Regions from separate parts of the Homo sapiens genome. Here region 2 is linked to region 1. The links are contacts of gene promoters, found by promoter capture Hi-C in human tissues and cell types (Jung and others, 2019). All regions are on one chromosome and are shown on one strand. The core of a region is centred on a gene start or on the middle of the fragment in contact, and the rest is flanking DNA. Distances in the headings are between cores, read along the strand shown. Region 1 holds the start of TRAPPC3L (trafficking protein particle complex subunit 3L). Region 2 overlaps KPNA5 (karyopherin subunit alpha 5).

Evidence for each region. Contacts are between HindIII fragments. The study calls those that stand out against the background at their distance.
Region 2: a fragment that was not itself captured here is called in contact with the fragment with the promoter of TRAPPC3L in region 1 in 2 of the 25 tissues and cell types used here (bladder and small bowel).

Annotation. Positions count from the first base shown.
Region 1 is chr6:116,544,189-116,550,446 of GRCh38, forward strand. TRAPPC3L (trafficking protein particle complex subunit 3L) reads right to left here and starts at 1,496. Exons shown (of 5, transcript NM_001139444.3): 1 at 1,285-1,496. The coding sequence starts at 1,326. It also overlaps a transcript of CALHM4 not described here. The HindIII fragment of the contact is 13,462 bases long and covers 1-6,258 here.
Region 2 is chr6:116,686,264-116,692,730 of GRCh38, forward strand. It overlaps KPNA5 (karyopherin subunit alpha 5), which reads left to right. Exons shown (of 14, transcript NM_001366306.2): 2 at 3,057-3,190; 3 at 5,792-5,893; 4 at 6,030-6,129. Among named protein-coding and RNA genes, the nearest start is that of KPNA5, 8.3 kb to the left of the region's middle. The HindIII fragment of the contact is 8,380 bases long and covers 1-6,140 here.

The sequences.
Region 1 (6,258 bases), core at 246-2,745:
AGATTGTTGTGACTAGCAGTAAAACAAAAGAATTTGAAAAAGAGAAAAGTAGAAAAAATCATACCCTACCTACATGCCATGGCCCCAACATTGTGTCCCTTTATAATTAAGGCCAAACTGAAATAGTGGAATTTCTTCTCTGTCCCTGATGGGTGGGCACTATTATATATTGAAATCTATTTTATTTCCAGCTGAGTTTCTGGTTCAGTACCCATAAAGGCCAGCTTTCTCTATTCTGCTTCATGGCCAAGGACTGTACCTTGAACTATCTGTTCAATTGGGTCTCAAATCCATACCACAGATGCCAGGAAAGGTCAACATAAGTTTATCTTTATCGTTTTTAAAACAATAAAAATAATCATATGAATATCTGAAAGAACATCATTAACTATTTCAGTAGGTTATGAATGTATCAGGATAAAAATACATTTTAACTGCTTTATAAAATCAAGTGATTTCGGTATAATATGAACTATGTACCATATATTTTTAGCACTTGAGAGTCCCACAGGAAAATAAATCAAGATCCCAGAAGGCCAGAGGAGGTATCTGCAGGCATTTCAAACTGAAGTATGCTAGTTAGTCACTACAATTCTAAACACCAAGTCTGAAATTACTTAATTATATCAAATGCCCATCAGTCTCCTGACATAATTAACAGAATTTTAAAGTTAACAGTGAGTTTTTGTATCTGTAGTATCTGAGTGACTAAAACTATAAGAGAGTATTAAAGAATATTATTTAAAACTAATCTGCAAAAAAATAAGGTTTATAAATAACTCTTAACCTGGAATATATAGAAAGGATGATATTACATACCAAGCTACAATAAGACTAGGAAACATTTTTAAAGGCAATCCTTTTTTGATGACCTATTTCGATTCAGTTTTACACATAATCAACTATATATATACACACATATATATATACATACATACATATATATACATATACATATATATGTAAGTTCCCATTTCCTGAAGTATGAAATAGAAAAAATTGCTAATATTTTCATATTTTCTGTCAGAGGTGAAAAAATTGACACTCATATTGATATAATTAGTCAGAAAAGAAGACCTTAAAGTGTGTATAAAGAATTGATTATTCTTTATGTAGGAGATAATCATAATTATTCCTAGATGTGTCATTTATGATTCACTTCGCTGAACACTGTCTTTCCTCCACTAAAAATTCTTATAGCATCAGTTTTTAAAATCAATCAGAAATCACTCAAGAAAACATTTTCTCTGAAGTAGAAAAAATCTCTTTGTAGAAAGATCTTACTATTTTATGGTATTCTGGTCTTCGGTGTGCAGGGCGAGACATAGTGCTTGATAGATGAAGAATATGATCTTCAATTTCTCTTCTTTTGCCTGTTTCTTAGAGGTGTATCAGTCCATGTCTTTTTGTTTTGTTTTTGTAAGCTCTTCCTCGCTTTGAGACAGGAGTGCTGCTTCTGCACTCTGCTGCTTTTGCTCTTTGCTGAGCTGAAGAGGGAAAAAAACCATGAACAACAGGATTGTCTTATAGCCACGTAACTTGCCATGGATCAAATAACTGCTTCATTTGTAAGGATGAATTGTAATCTAGAGCCATAAAAGCTGATAATGTGAAGTCAGACCTGAAGCACTGCAACTCAAAAAATTCTTTAGCCCGAGGGAGTTCAAGAGTGGTGTTTTGTTCTCAGGCCAAGACATTGTTTTAAAATCAGAAACAGAAACCTTCGCAATCCAAGATAGATCTAAATGTTAGCATTATTCAGTCTTGGATTGATTGTTGTAAGAATTAGAGAGACAAGATCAGCAATCTGTAGGTAATAAATCCTGAGTTAAAACGTGATCCCTCAACTACACCAATGGTTATCACACTGTCCCCAAAACCATAGATCCCTATCTTGTGTGATTACAGTATTCAAATATATCTGGTAACTTTTTTGCTTTTCATTAGCAGCAATCAACAACATTAAGGAGTGATAGAATGGGCAATATTTTCTTACAAAACTGTTGTTCAAAATGGGCGCTCTACAGTATCATAATGTATAATGATTCTGATAGAGAAAGTAAGCCCTTAGCTTTCTTTTGAGAGCTCCTGAGACGTAAGCTATTGAAGGCTCTCTTTATTTACGCAGAAATACTTAAAGTTCAAATAAAAAAATCCTTTCACCTTGACAACTGCAGGGTGCAGAGTAGGATCAAAATCTTTCCAGAAATGGAAGCGGAAAACTCAGTTTAGGAAAGTAATTTTCTTCTACTTATAGTTTGAGTCCATTAGTCCTATTTGTTCTGGAAAATTCTTGCTATAAAGTGACAAACTCAAGAATACTTTGACGAAAAGTGTGGTGTAGTTGAAAGAACCTAGGAGGATTTGGAAGGCTCAGGCTGTTGCAGCCCTACCATTTACTGGCTGTGTGGCATTGGGCAAGCCATTTTATTGCTCTATGACTCAGTTTCCACATTTGCAAAATGGCAACAATATCACTCACCTCACAGAATAATTGTGAGAACCAAAGAGACGAGGCGTACCGTAAAACACATTAAAATGCACCATATAATAACTAGTTACTATAGGTTATTCTTGTGGTTGGATAAATTGAATGGAATTCTACAATACCTAAGGCATTTCCATCACTGCATATGTTCTATGACACTATGATCTCAGGAAAATTAATTTCACTTAGTTGTGGGGTATGGGGTGGAGAGTTTTTCAGTAGCAAATAATAACGACTTATATGTATATCAAATTTACAGTTTACAACATGGTTTTCGTTCTCTTCATCTCATTTTAATTCAGATACAATCTGTGAAATAGTACTGTAATCATGGCCATTTTACAGGATAAGAATCTAAAAGTAGAGAGGTTGAGAAATGTATTCAAGGTTATCTGGATGTTGGCAACAAGAAGGGATTTGGGCTAATTTTGATGATTCCAAGTCAAATTTATTTTGTACCGCACACACTCTAATTATGTTAGAGCAAACTATTTTAGAGGCAGACTCAAAAAGCTTACTAAGGTGCAGGGACAGCATGTTGCTGGGTCAATTTGTGGGCAATCCTAGTTCTGAGTAAGATACCCCAGAGAATAACCTACAAAGGGCCTGTGTGCTTGCTGCGAGGTGATGGCGGTACTGGAATCAATTTCACCAAACTCTAATGGCTGTGGTATGGTCACATTATGGCCATCGGGAGAATTCGGGATGTCATTGGATGTATTAGAAAAAGCCGGCTTTTACTTCAGACTGACATGGCTCCCCTCTGCTCCATTGACCTTCCAGTCAAGACACGAGCTTAAGGAAGGAGCAGAGCCCCTGCCAGGTGCTACTGTACAAAGCACAACCTTCACGACCACAGCTGTACTCATCATCACAGGGGACACTGGTTTGCTGGTTTTCAGTCTATGAAACCTGCTAGTCTTCAGCAGCTCTTAGGATGCAAGTGAGCCCTGTGTTCCCCAGACTCCTTTTTTAATGTAAATGTACTCCTCCCTTAAATAGAAGAAAGCACAGAGATGATGTTTCAAGCGGGTACATGATCTATAATGTCTGCCCTGGCAGCCAACTAGGAAAGAATTATTCCAAGATAATGCATAAGCAAAGTTTTTCCTGTTTTACTAAGAGTTCTTTAGTCTTGTTAGGACTAAATCTGGAACTGGGGTTAGGAGAAAGACACATTCTTCAGTCTGGTAAAACTGCACTGCAGTCAACCAACCCAAGTAAATGGTGAATTGAGCTATGCCCCTATGCTGGTCCTTTGGGAATACATGGGCAGCAGAGTAGACACTTGGGAAGGTGCTAATAGAGGATGACATCCGCTGATCTGTCGGTTGTATGATCACCCGCAAACTATCAGAGAAGGCAAAGGTCTGAATGTCCCTAAAATTTATGTGTTTAAACTTAATGCCCATTGTGGTAGTTTTAAGAGTTGGGGCCTTTGGGGAAGCGATTAGGTCATGAAGGCTCTGCCCTTATGAATGAATTAGCACCTTATAAAAGGGCTGGAAGGAAATAGCTTAGACTTTTGTTGCTCTTCTGCTATGTGAGGATATAGCAACAAGGTGCCATCTTGGAAGCAGAGAAGAGCCCTTGCCAAAAAACAATGCCAGCACCTTGATCTTGTACTTCCCAACCTCCAGAACTGTAAAAAATAAATTTCTGGTGTTTATACTAGTCTGAAGTATTATAGCATCACAAAAGAACTAAGAAAATTGATTACTCATAAATGTAATCATTCACAGTCATTAGCAAGTTACACATTGGCACTGCAGATGAAGTGATTAGTTCTTTCAACAGTAAGCAATAGTAAAACTTGGGAATTTATCATCTACAAACTCCTTTACAGCAAGAATTTTACAATCCAATAATGTTTTCTAATCAATCTATGCTCCATCCTTTACTACATACTTCCCTGAAAGAATGGTCTACAATTTCCTTCCCCACTTCCTCACTCCCCTTATACAGATGCTCCTCAACTTGTGATAGGGTTATATCCCGACAAACCATTCAGAAGTCAGAGTGCATTTAATATACCTCATGTACCGAGCAGCATAGCTTAAGCTAGCCTACCTTAACATGCTCAGAACACTTACATTAGCCTACAGTTGAGCAAAATCATCTAACAGAAAGCCTATTTCATAATAAAGTATTGAATATCTCATGTAATTTATTGAATACTGCACTGACAATAAAAAACAGAATGGTTGTGTGCATGTTTGATGTAGGGTTTCTCCTGAATGTGTATTGCCTTCACACAATTGTAAGGTGGGGACCATCTGTACTTTAATTAAGTTCATTTTTAAATATAAAATTTTAAACATAAGAAGGCCAGGCATGGTGGTTCACGTCTGTAATCCCAACACTTTGGGAGACCGAGGTCGGTGGATCACCTGAGGTCAGGAGTTCGAGACCACCCTGGCCAACATGGCAAAACCCCATCTCTACTAAAAATACAAAAAAATTAGCCAGGTGTGGTGGAGGGCACCTGTAATCCTAGCTGCTTGGGAGGCTGAGGCAAGAGAATCGCTTGAACCTGGGAGGTGGAGGTTGCAGTAGCTGAGATGGTGCCACTGCACTCCATCCTGGGTGACAGAGTGAGACTCCGTCTCAAAATGTACATATATGTAAAAAATAAAAATAAAAGTATAAGCCTAAGGAAAGATGTGGCATTTACTATTGAGCTTTACTGAACATGTCACTATATACACTTCAGGCTTTGCTTTTTTAAATTTTTGTGTTGATACATGATATTATGAGGTACATGGATAGAATATACAGTGATCAAGTTAGGGCATTTAGCGTATCCATCATCTTGAGTATTTATCATTTGTATGTGTTGAGAACATTTCAAGACCTCTTTTCTAGCTGTTTTGAAATGTAAATACATTATATATTATTTATATATATAAAACTCTCAGACAAAACTTGCTAAGTTTGTTCTTTGTATATTTTATATATTTTCTGATATTTATTTGATGGATTCATTTCTGATAAAAGTATATTAAAAATATCTCTCCAGCCAGACGTGGTGGCTCACGCCTGTAATCCCAGCACTTTGGGAGGCCGAGGTAGGTGGATCACCTGAGGTCAGAAGTTTGAGACCAGCATGGCTAACATGGTGAAACCCTGTATCTACTAAAAATACAAAATTTAGCTGGGCATGGTGGTGCATGCCTGTAATCCCAACTACTCGGTAGGCTGAGGCAGGAGAATCGCTTCAACCCGGCAGGCAGAGGTTGCAGTGAGCCGAGATCATGCCATTGCACTCCAGACTGGACGACAAGAGCAAAACTCCATCTTAAATTATATATATATATATATATATATATATATATATATATATATATATACACACACACACACACACACACATCCATAATTATAAAAATTTTTCTTTATAATTTGATCAGTTATTGCTTTATATATTTCAAAGTTATACAATCACAGACTACAAGTTGACAATTGCCAAAATTATTCCTTGTGACACTTTTTAGTTAAGTTTTGCCTTCTATTAATATTATTGTTCCCATTGATATATATTTCAGTACCTTTATTTTCAAGCATTGTGTGTGGTATAGTTTTGAGAGTGTCACTCGTAAGCAGCATGACTCTATTTTTCAGTGACTTTGTAGGTAAAGTTTAATCTAGTTCTGGAACAGTGGTTAAAAGCATGTGTTAGACCACCTGAGTCCCAGTCCTGGCACTTCCGCTCATCTGTGTGTGATGGGCAGAAGTGCCAGGGTAATTTTCCTGGGTAATCTCTCCACACC
Region 2 (6,467 bases), core at 701-3,200, 140 kb after region 1:
ATTTTATTCTGGTTTTGATTTGCATTTCTCTAATGATCAGTGATGTTAACCTTTTTTTCATATGCTTCTTGGCTGCATGTATGTCCTTTGAAAAGTGTCTGTTCATGTCCTTTGCTCACTTTTTAATGGGGTTGTTTGTATTTTTCTTGTAAATTTGTTTAAGTTTCTTATAGATGCTGGATATTAGACCTTTATCAGATGCATAGTTTGCAACAATTTTCTCCCATTCTGTAGGTTGTCTTTTACTCTGTTGACAGATTCTTTTGCTGTGCAGGAGCTCTTAAGTTTAATTAGATCCCATTTGTCAATTTTTGCTTTTGTTGCAATAGCCCCTTCGTGATGAAATCTCTGACTATTCCTGTGGCCAGAATGATATTGCCTAGGTTGTCTTCCAGAGTTTTTATAGTTTTGGGTTTTACATTTAAGTCTTTAATCCATCTCGAGTTATTTTGTATATGGAAGGGGTCCAGTTTCAATCTTCTGCATGTAGCTAGCCTGTTATCCCAGCACCATTTATTGAATAGGGAGTCCTTTCCCAATTGCTTCCTTTTGTCAGTTTTGTCAAAGATCAGATGGTTGTAGGTGTGTGGCCTTATTTATGGGCTATTTTGTTTCATTGGTCTATGTGTCTGTTTTTGTACCAGTACCCTGCTGTTTTGGTTACTGTAGCCCTGTAGTACAGATTGAAGTCAGGTAATATGATGCCTCCAACTTTGTTCTTTTTGCTTAGGTTTGCCTTGGCTATTCAGTCTCTTTTTTGGTTCCATATGAATTTGAAAATAGTTTTTTCTAGTTCTGTGAAGAATGTCATTGGCAATTTGATAGGAATAGTGTTGAATCTGTAAATTGCTTTGGCCAGTATGTCCATTTTCACGATATTGATTCTTCCTATCCACAAGCATGGAATGTTTTTCCATTCGTTTGTGTCATCTCTGATTTCTTTTAGCAGCGTTTTGTAATTCTCACTCTAGAGGTCTTTCACCTCCTTGGCTGGCTATATTTTGAGGTATTTTATACTTTTTCTGGGAAGTCAGATTTAAAAGACTACATGCTGTATGAATCCACTTTTCTGAAATTCAGGAAAAGGCAGAACTATAGGGATGGAGAATTAACTTTTTACCAGATGTTAAGGGTCAGGGAGGGCTAATAGGAGCAGCTTGAGGGAGTTTTAGGGGGTGACAACTGTTCTGTGTCTTGATTGTGATAGTTACATGCATGTATATTTGTTAAATTCATAGAAATGTATACGAAAAGAGTGATTTTTACTAAATATAAATTTAAAAATAAACCTAAAATAACGGAATTCATTATTCTTGTCTCAGAAACAAGCCGATATGTAAACACAACAACCACTACTCTGATCCTCCATCCGTATTCTCTGTCTTATGTTATCTTGCCATACTACTCAGATGGCTCAGTTAAAAACCATGGAGTCATCCTCAACTCCCTTTTCTTCCTCACCAGATATCTGTTACATTCATTTGGCCTCTAATTTTTACTGAATCAATTTCAGAAATATTTCTAGAATCCAACTTGTCTTCTATGTTTTCATTGTAGTAACTTGTTTAGTTCACGCCTTCAGCATCTTTCCTATCTCTCTCTCTGAACTATGTAAAAACAACCTTTTCCTTAATTTGTTTAATTCTATTCCTTAGGATCAAGTCCAAATTTCACAGCTGCATTATAGGAACCATATGTCCTCTAACCTACCTTTATAGCTTTATGTTCTGCCATGCATCCTCATTTTGGACACACTTAGTCTCTTACTGTTCTTGGTTATGCAAGGCTTCTTCAAAAACTTTGCCTTTGCATATATTCCTTCTGCTTGAAATGCTTGATTCTCCCCATTTCTCTTTCCTGTTTTTCCTTTAAAATAGGATACCCATGAAGCTTTCAGAAGTCCCTAAGGCACAATTAGTTGCCATATCTTCACTGCTCTCTCAAGATTTAAAGCATGTATTTTAGTGTACTCCTTACAATAAAATTTGCCAATTCATTAGTCTGTCTCTTCAATATCAGGGATGGCAGACAGATGCCAGCCTCTCCTTCTCTTGTGTTTACTTCATAAGCTAATTGGTCACAACATTGTCTCTGGTTGGACATGGATATGTCCTCTGAATTTAACAGAATAACATACTGGGTACTCACTATCTACTGTTAAACTGAAGTTGGCACCCTGCTTTAGGCAGATTTTGTGTGTGTGTGATGTGTAAGTCCAGAATAGGTTATAATATCAGTATTTTAATATTCCTATAAGATAATATCAAGATATCAATACTGTTACATTGTTAAAGTTTATAATTCACTTTCTAAAAGTAAAACTAGCACATATATTCAAATATGAAATATATTTGCATATATTTTATGTATTTATAAAATAGGTATATAAATGTTAATGTTTTAAAATACATTTGCAATAAAACTACTTAAAAATAAAGTATACATGTATTTTAGTATTTCAAAAGAACTAATTATACTGGAGTACTAAAAACTGATATTGTAGTCATAATTCAAGTCCTGACCCTTGTGGCCATAGCTCTTAAGGCAATGCCTTCAGTAAGTGAAAGAAGCCAGACCCCAATAAATATTTGAGATGTGCTTACTGGAGCCTAATATCATATTTCATTAAAAATAAGATACTTCAAAGCTGGTTATTTCTTGATCTAGCCAGAAACTGTAATTTAGAAGACTTTTTTTTTAACCCAAATAATTCATGATTATTTCCTGACAGTAATTATGTTTCAGAAAGGTTAAAACACTGTGGGGGCTAGGGAGACAGGAAAGGTTGTTGCATCTTAGAATCAATAAGATAGGGTAAACTTTGTCTTTGTTTAGACCAAAATTATTTGTTTAAGATATTATTTCTAAAATATGTGGTCATTTTGCTCTAATCTTGATGTGGAATTAAGGGAATGTATTCTTTGTACATAATTTTCAGAATGGGTTTTGTTGACCTGTTAATCAGTGAGCCTGAATTTAGTTGCTAGATTAAGTGTCTCATGTTGTTTTGAGAGAGTGAGTTATCAGTGTCTGTTTTCTTTTCTCCTTCCTTTAAGATGCCATGGCTAGTCCAGGGAAAGATAACTATAGAATGAAAAGTTATAAGAATAAAGCCCTAAATCCTCAAGAGATGCGTAGACGAAGAGAAGAAGAAGGAATACAGCTTAGAAAACAAAAAAGAGAAGAACAGGTAGGTGTTTTTAGCTATTTAATTTTGTTTTTTAAAATTTTAATTATTTGCTAATTATTGGATAATTTTAAATGGAAATGTTTTAAGAAATTGAATATAGCTAAATCTATTATTTATTAGACTCCAGGCATCATAATTGCAAATTTGTGAAACAGAACTCTGTGCTACTTTAGTCACTGGGAGAAATGGATTTTCTGTTTTATTGATAAACCTGTTGTGTTAATTATATTTTTACCCTACTGCTAGGAAATTTTTCCTCTTGCATCTATTTAGATCACTTCCATTTGTCATTGTAAAATTTGCCCCTTAAAGAAACATTAATTATATATTATTTGCTGCTTTGTAGTTTTCATAATTCTTGCCCGTAAGTAAATTATTGTCATCTTCCCATGCTATTCATACTGTTCCCCCATTGTCTTATTAGCTGGATCTCTGTTTATACTTTTCATATGTGACATAAAGAATATAAAATTGTTTAAGAGAGTACATCTCAACATTTTTTATTCCAAGATGTACTTAAATGTAGAAGTATTTGTAAGTAAGTAAAATAATGTGGTTCTCACACATGTGAATTAAAACTGATGTATGAAAAGGACTAGCAGTGAAGAAAGTAGAAAAGGCCTATTCTCTTCTATTGTATTCTATTCTATTGTATTCTGTAAGTAGAGATGGGGTCCTGCTATGTTGCCCAGGCTGGTATTGAACTCCTCGCCTCAAGCAATATTCCTGCCTCTGTCTCTCAAAGTGCTAGGATTACAGGCATGTAATAGGCAAGGCCTATTTCAGAAATATGATAATGATTTCTCATCTCCCTATCTACAGCGTCTAACACAATCCTTCATACATTATAGTAGGTACTAAAAAAATTGTGTTGAATAAATGATTAGAAGGAAGATTGTTTACATATTAAAGAAGAACAGGCTGGGAGCCCTGGCTCACCCCTTTAATCCCAGCACTTTGGGAGGCTGAGGCGGGCGGATCACGAGGTCAGGAGATTGAGACCATCCTGGCTAACAAGGTGAAACCCCATCTCAAAAAAATTAGACATGCGTGGTGGCTGGCGCCTGTTGTCCCAGCTACTCAGGAGGCTGAGGCAGGAGAATGGCGTGAATTCGGGAGGCAGAGTTTGCAGTGAGCCGAGTTGATGCCACTGCACTCCAGCCTGGGCGACAGAGTAAGACTCCATCTCAAAAAAAAAAAAAAAAAGAAGAACGATATTTATTTAGATGTCAAAAAGAATATAAGCAGATTTTGTTTTCCTCAAATTTTGATTTAGGAAATGTAGAGTTATCCCTTGGTTCCAGGATCCTCTGCAGATATCAAAATTCACTGATGCTCAGGTCCTTTATGTAAAATGGCATGGTATTTGCATATTACCTGCACACATCCTCTTGTATATTTTGAGTCATCTCCAGATTACTTATAATATCTAATACAGTGTAAATGCTGTGTAGTTGAGTTGTTATACTGTGTTGTTTTAAAATATGTATTATTGTCGGGCTCAGTGGCTTATGCCTATAATCCCAGCACTTTGGGAGGCCTAGGTGGGCGGGTCACCTGAGGTCAGGAGTTTGAGACCAGCCTGACCAACATGGTGAAACCCCGTCTCTACTAAAAATAAAAAAATTAGCCGAGCATGGTGGCGCACGCCTATAATCCCAGCTACTCAGGAGGTTTAGGCAGGAGGATCGCTTGAACCCAGGAGGTGGAGGTTGCAGTGAGCCGAGATTGTGCCACTGCACTCTGTCCTGGAGACAGAGCGAGACTCCGTCTCAAAAAATAAAATAAAGTGAAATAAAATATGTATTATTTTTTATTTTCGTATTTTGTTGTTGTTGTTTATTTTTAAGAGATGGGGTCTTGCTGTGTTGCCCAGGTTGCCCTCCAATTCCTGGGCTTGTGCAGCCCTCCCACCTCAGCTTCTCAAGTAGCTGAGACCAGAGGCACGTGCTGCCATGCTTGGCTTCTTATTTTTTATTGTTATTATTATTTTTGATCTGAGGTTGGTTGAATCTGGGAATGTGGAACTCACAGATATGGAGGGCCAACTGTACCTATAAATCTCCTTTAGTGAACTCACCATGTTTCTTTCTTCTTTTTTTCTGCTTCATTTTTATCTGCTCCTGAATTAATAAGCATAGTACTGTCATTCCTAAGATTTGTTTTCTATTCCTTGTTAATCAGATATACTAAATCTGTTAATGTATCAGATGTTATCTTTCATATGCAACAGATGTGCTTTTTAAGTTTTCTTGCAAAAATTCTTAGATACCTCATAATCCAGTGTGTAAATATGTGCTTTTTTAAGTGCTATAAAATGACCATGTGTATTCCACTTACACGCTTACTGTTGGTAAAAGATCTGAGATTGAAAGTGACGTGAAGTAGTCTGTGCAGCCAAAAGCTAGCCCAGAAATTTGACTTCTCATAAATACCTTAGATCTTCCTAGTATAATGATTGGGAAATACTCAAATATTCAGAATTTTAAGTTATAAAATTGATAGGTTTCTTTTGTCCACTCAAATGAAAACATGGAATTCTATGGCAACTTAATGTTTTATGGAAAGCTCAATGTGTAAACTGATTTCTCTTTATTACAGTTGTTCAAACGCAGAAATGTCTATTTGCCCAGAAATGATGAATCTATGCTTGAAAGTCCTATACAGGATCCAGATATTAGTTCCACTGTACCCATTCCAGAGGTATACTTTACCAAAATATGTTTCAAATTATACCTCAATAATTTTAGCAATAGTATGTATAACAAATATTTATGCATGCAAAATTATTCATGTAAAATATGTAAATGTTAATTATATTTTTGTGTGTGTGTTTTAGGAAGAAGTTGTTACTACAGATATGGTTCAGATGATTTTTTCTAATAATGCTGATCAACAGCTAACAGCAACACAGAAATTTAGAAAGCTGCTTTCTAAAGGCAAGAATTATTTTCAGTATGCTTATTTGATATTACACGATTTTTTAGTAGAGGTTTATTTTATTGTTTTTTTTTAAATTTTAAAATACCTTTCTTTGCTAGACACAGGTGTTATATTCTCTGCAAAATATATTGTAAAGTAACATCCGTTTTTGAACATGATGTTACCAAAGTAACATATGTTGACTGTAGAAAAATCGTAAAAATATAAAAGCAGTTAAAGAGGCAAATATAAAAAGATTAATCCTGCTGCCAAGAAATAAGGTTAGAGATATATATTTTTTAATTCTTGTAGAAATATTTTTCAGACATGATTTTTTATTTTTATTTGTATTTAT